2 separate regions of the Homo sapiens genome follow, and region 1 is linked to region 2. Evidence: promoter capture Hi-C in human tissues and cell types (Jung and others, 2019). All regions are on one chromosome and are shown on one strand. The core of a region is centred on a gene start or on the middle of the fragment in contact, and the rest is flanking DNA. Distances in the headings are between cores, read along the strand shown. Region 1 has its middle 9.3 kb from the start of GLT6D1. Region 2 holds the start of PAEP (progestagen associated endometrial protein).

Region 1 (3,100 bases), core at 58-2,557, 87 kb before region 2:
GTACCAATGCAAACTCACCAGTTTACAAAAGAACGGTTGGATGTGAATAGCGGTTTTTATCTTCGACACCAGCAGAAAGGTCCTTTAAACTAGAAAAAAAATATGTTTCATTGAGCAAAAACCACATCCTCATGTTTTTTAAATAAACTTCACCAAAAATGCATCTTACTTTCCTACTATTCTCTTAGAAACCCTAATTTCCAGCAAAAAACCTAGGATGACTTAATTTAACACAACATGACTTTAAGATTTTCAATTACTGGAGAGAATTGTGAGATTACATTTACCAAATTAATCTTACCAAAGATTACTAAAGTCATGTGAGCTGAAAGGCCTCTGGGCTAGCTTCTATTAGTCTACAAACACTTACTTTTCTTTAAGCCAACTAATTAGAGCTCTTTCATATGATTGGTAGTGAAATATTGTTTCCATGTGACACATAAACACACAGACTTAACAGACACAGACAGAGGCAAATCTTAGGGATTTAAAATGTTTCACTTGCCTGTTTTCAAAGTTTTTTTCTTCCCTACTTTATACCACTAATCTCTTGATTATCTATTCCATGTCTTAAACAATTGTTAACTAGGTAACTCTAAATTTACATCTCCAAATACATGACTTAGGTGAAGCAAGGTAAAAAATGTACATCTCAAAGGCACAGACTTGGATCTAAAAAAGGCAAGGTCTGTTATGTAAATGAAGCCATTGTCTCCCCCTTAGTTAAAGTTCCTAGTGGTTTAGACGCAGAGACAGAGATGTCCTTACAAAATGGAAATTTCCTTTAAAGACATAAATTTCCTTTACACAGAATTTTATTGAAGTGACTTAGTTTGATAGGTAGTATTTTCAGCGGAGCTTGATTAGGTCACTGGCTTTAGGGTGGAGCCCTCTAAGGAACAGAGCCAAGAAAGCATGCACAATTTTCTGATCTAAATGTGCAATGAGTGGCCCCCTGTAGTAATGACCATTTCCTGTAAACTGTCCTCAGCCTTCCCTAACGTTGTAGCTCTCATCTGCCATGACACACACCAAGGTCAAATATTCTCACAGTACAGAGTAATCTCTGGTATCTCTAAAAGTCAAAGAAGTCAAGTAATGCAATACAGGAAAGCAGAACTTTAGACCTAAGAAAAACCTGCCATGACTCTGAAAACTCCACACAGAAAGCAGAACACCCCCGCACAGGGTGAGTGGTGCCTTTATTCTGAGTTATTTAAGGATCCAAGTCATTATGATACAGGAGTGAGAAAGAAATTCAGGCAGATAAGGAGGGTAAGAGAGTCCTCAGCAAGGTTTCCTTTTAATAAAAAGCAGCCCCCAATCATTTCTTTCCTAACAAAAAGCAGCCTGAAAAATCAAGCTGCAAGTATAGATAAACAAGCTAAAAGCTTACATAGGTAAATGCTAGCAGCTGTGGTGATAGAAGAGGGATACCTGGAAGCCAAGTCTGTTCAACATGAAGGATCCCCCTTCCCTTTTCTTGGTCGCCACCTGTGTGGTAAAAGGCAGGCAATATGACACTGGCCAGGTAGAGACCCCATCTGGATAATAAAAGATTAGGGTGGGTCGGCCAGCTTCTTTGTGCACTATGCAAATGGCATGCCTAGTCTGACCAATCTCTCATGTCCTATGTAAATCAGATATTGCCTCCTCAAGCTCGTCTATAAAACCTCGTGCATTTCACCAAGGACCTGGAAGACCCACTCAGACGCCCCTCTCTCTCCGCAGGTGAGAGAGCTATCCTCTTTTCTCTTTCCTTTGCCTATTAAGCCTCTGATCTTAAACTCACTTCTTGTGTGTCTGCATCCTCAACTTCCCTGGTGTGAGATGACAAACCTCAGGTATTTACCCCAGACAACAACGCCGCTTCAATTAGAACCCTTCTGTAGACATTTTTTTCACTTGGTACCAAAGATGGCAAAAGGGCTTCCCCTTTTTGGGAGAAATAGGGTGGAAGAAAAATAAAAGAATAATTTTTTAAGAAAGGAAGCACACAGAGAAATCAAGTGAATGTTTTTTTTTTCTCTTTTGCAGCTTCAAGGAATTTTAGCCAATCCAGAGGGCTTGTTACCCATAGTGTGGAATTCTCATTCAGATTTGGCCAAGTCAGGTAGAGATGGTCAAATCCAATGGGAGAAAGACCAAAACGACAATGAAACCAAACTATATTGTTAGAAAAAAATGCTTGGTGCTGCAAAGAAAACCAGGCAGAAAATTTCTCAGCAAGGCACATTTACTTCTGCAGAAGGGTGCTGCCTGCATCAGTCACAATCGCAAGAGCACACCAAGCTGGGAGGGCAGGGGTTTTTACCCCTAATGCAGTTCCTGTTTCTGTGTCCTTTCCCCATTGGCTGATGCAGTTCCTGTTTCTGTGTCCTTTCCCCATTGGCTGGAGTTGGACTGCACAGTCTAAACTGACCCGATTGGCTAGTGTTTGAAATTGAATAAGGCCAATTATGCGGGAAGGGAGAGGCTGTTCCTTACCAACTAGGTGGGAAGAGTTGTTTACAGAGTAAGAGGTTTGCAGGTTACAGATTAAGCAGAAAAACAAGTGCTCATTACAGATTAAGCAGGAAGGGCTGTGTACAGAGCAAGAAAGACCAAAGAAGCTTTGAAGAGGAACTTATAATTTCTGGCAATATGATTACTGAGCTCTCTAATGGAAGCAGAAATGAAGACCAGGCGGTGGTCAATCTTAACTTTTAGTCATGAGGGAGAATTTTCAAGACAAAACTCCAATTCAGCTACTTACCTAGAAATGGGGCCCAGGCTGAAGACTGCTCTCTACTGTCTCAGAAACAGGAAAAGTCCCAAACTCGCCTTCCCTGTTGGAATCGAGCTGAAACTCCAGAAAAGGAGTTGCTCAGCAAAAGAAACCTCAGATCTCAACCGAATGTTGGGAGATCAGGGATTCTCTGGGGTAGAAGGGGATACTCCTGGACTTCAGCAAATCGGACTTCAGCAAATTGTCCTATTAATTTGAGCAATAAAGATAGCCCAAACTGATACTGAGCATCGATAGGAGTGTCTGCAAAAAGAATCAAACTTGGTAAAATATTTGAAGGGATTTATTCTGAGCCAAATACTAGGGACCATG
Region 2 (2,728 bases), core at 93-2,592:
AATTAGTGCTTCCCCTGCCCTCCAGGTAAAAGATGCCTCTGGGGTCAGCATCAGGTTGACCGGAGTAAACACTCTGACTCCCTGAAGCAGAGAGAGTGGGGACAGGCCAGGCCCCACTCCCTCATGCCCCAGCAGAGCCGCCTCTGGGAGAGCGTGGCTAGCATGCCAGCACTGAGCCAGCCCTTGGGGCCTGGGGACACTCACAGTTGATCTTGAACTTCTTTGGATTCTCAGTCTTCTCTCCAAGGACCTTCTTCTCAACACAGCTGTTGTTCTCCCTGAAAGGTGGTGACAATAGGATGAGTGGCCACTTGAATTGGAGTTGCCTTCACTGTCACTCCTAAAATCAGGTCACCACGGGAACTTCCCCGGGTCCAAGGAGCACCGCAGCCCGCAGCCGCCCAGACCTTCTCCTCAGTCTGACCTGGGGCTGCACTGTGTGGTTGGCTGTTGGCCCAGAGCCTGGGGCAGGGGATCCAAGGGGACAGGGAACGTCTGGAGCCCTGGTTTTCCACCCCACCCTCATGGAAGGGCCACAGTGAAGCCCCTGGCTGTCAGAAAATGCCTGGGGCTAAGTCCAGCTCCGCCCAACCCACCCAGTCCTGGACCCCTGAGGGGGGAGACTGAGCCCCCGCCCAGCCCGTCTCAATGATGAGAAACCCACCATCTGTGCAGAACGATCTCCAGGTTGTCCTCGGGGGTGGGCAACAGTGAGGTGATGTGGACCCTCAGAGGGGCCTTCAGTGTCGCCATGAGGGAGATGTTGTTGGTCGCCATGGCCATGGAGTGCCAGGTCCCTGCCAACTGAGGGGGCCTTGGGCTGCACGGCGGTCCCACCCCACCATGGCTCTCGTTGCACCCGGTGCAGACGGGGCTGAGTCTAACTGGGATGGGTACAGTGAGCATTGGATGGTTGTCTGCTATCTACCAGATCCTGGGCTATGAAATTTCCTGTACTTAAAATGACCAGTGTGTGCTAACTCAGGAGTGTTCCAAAGTCCAAATAATGAGTCACCTAGGATGCTGGGAAACCAGAGAGGCCACCCTAAAGATGGAGAGCAGGGCTGAGGGCTTCCTGACGTCATGGCGTCCATTCTGTGCTTCCTGTAGGTTTCTGAGATCCTGGGCTTCCTGCCTGCCCGCAGCTCCCACCCGCCCCAGGCCTCCCACAGTAAAGTGCCCGCTCCCCCAGCCTCAAACCTTTGGGAGCTCCAGGTCCTGCTTGGTCTGGGGGATGTCCATGGCCGGGACACCACAGACCAGGGCCACGCCCAGGGTGAGCAGGAGGCACAGCATGGCTGCGGCTGTGGGTGGCTCTGAGCTCTGGAGCCAGAGGGATGCTGAGGCAGTGTGGGCTCAGGGGGCCTTATGTAGGAGGAGGGCAGACAAGATCCCCGCCCACAGCCTCGCCATGTGATTCCTCGAACCTGTGACTCATCCTTGGCCCCTGGGCAGCTTCCTCCACTGGGGCAATGGGAGGCTCTTCCCTGCGTCCACGCGGGAACCTCCTCTGTGTCCGGGCTGGGCAGTTCTTGGCAGGGCCTCAGGCGGGAGGGGCCTGGGTCGGGTCCAGGCTGGCAGCGGCGGGAGCACCTTCTGGGTTGGGGCTCCTGGACAATGTTGGGTCAGAGGCCAGCACTGAGGACAGCTGTGTCCAGGGCAGGGGTATGGCCTGTGGGGCAGGCAGAGGGCCTGAGAGCCCCATGGCTGCCCCAGGATGCCACAGACATCATGCCAGTGGGTGACTGACTGCACGGTCATAATCCTGACCTGTACCTTCCACTCAGACATCCCCAGGTGTGCACACCTGTGTCCCTCAAACAGCCAGCCTCTGGACAGGTGCACACTGCCTGTTAGCACTGTTTCTCTCTGACTCACAGGCAAGACTGGGTGGAAATGGGAGGCAGTGGACTTTCAGACTTTGTCCTACAGTCTATATTGGATGTACTTTTTCCCACAGGGAAGCATCACTTTGTAACTTACAATCGAGCCCGCATCTCACTCCCTGGAGAGCACTTGAGTCCTGAGGCAAGACACGGGTGTCCACTCCCACTCCCCCATCCATCAGAGCAGGTCATTCCGGCCAGAGCAGCTAGGCAAGAAATGGTAACTAAAGGCAGGCAGATTGGGAAGGGGGAGGTATACCTGTCTCTATTCGCATATAACATCATTGCCCAGGTACAAAATTGCAAGAACTCTACAAAACCCCTCCTAGAACCGAGTGAGGTCAGCAAGGTCAATCGCACAAAAATCCACCGTGTTCCCACACAGTGTCAAGGAGTAGACAGAACCCGAAACTGGAAATTCAGGATTTGTAATCACACACACAGCATGTAGGCAAAAATCTCACCAAATATGGACAGGACTTAAACTCTGAACCCAAGGAAGGGAAATCAAAGACCTAAGGTAAAGGACAGGCACAATGTGTTCATGGGCTGGAAGCTTCAACACAGCAAAGGTGTTAGCTCTCCTCAACTCAACCTAGAGATTTAATGCAATTCCTATCAAATTCTCAGCAAGATATTTTGTAGGTAGCTATAGACATGTGTGTGACACACACACACACATATATACATATATACATTTTTTTGAGGCCAAGTCTTGCTCTGTTGCCCAGGGTGGAGTGCAGTGGTACGATCTTGACTCACTGCAACCTCTGCATCCCAGGTTCAAGTAATCCTGCTGCTTCAGCCTCCAGAGTAGCTGGGATTATAGGCGCCCACCACCA

What was found. Contacts are between HindIII fragments. The study calls those that stand out against the background at their distance.
Region 1: a fragment that was not itself captured here is called in contact with the fragment with the promoter of PAEP in region 2 in 4 of the 25 tissues and cell types used here (adrenal gland, dorsolateral prefrontal cortex, lymphoblastoid cells and 1 more).

Annotation. Positions count from the first base shown.
Region 1 is chr9:135,647,293-135,650,392 of GRCh38, reverse strand. No RefSeq gene overlaps it. Among named protein-coding and RNA genes, the nearest start is that of GLT6D1, 9.3 kb to the right of the region's middle. The HindIII fragment of the contact is 6,544 bases long and covers 1-3,100 here.
Region 2 is chr9:135,560,370-135,563,097 of GRCh38, reverse strand. PAEP (progestagen associated endometrial protein) reads right to left here and starts at 1,342. Exons shown (of 7, transcript NM_002571.4): 1 at 1,201-1,342; 2 at 665-804; 3 at 205-278. The coding sequence starts at 1,296. The HindIII fragment of the contact is 9,434 bases long and covers 1-2,728 here.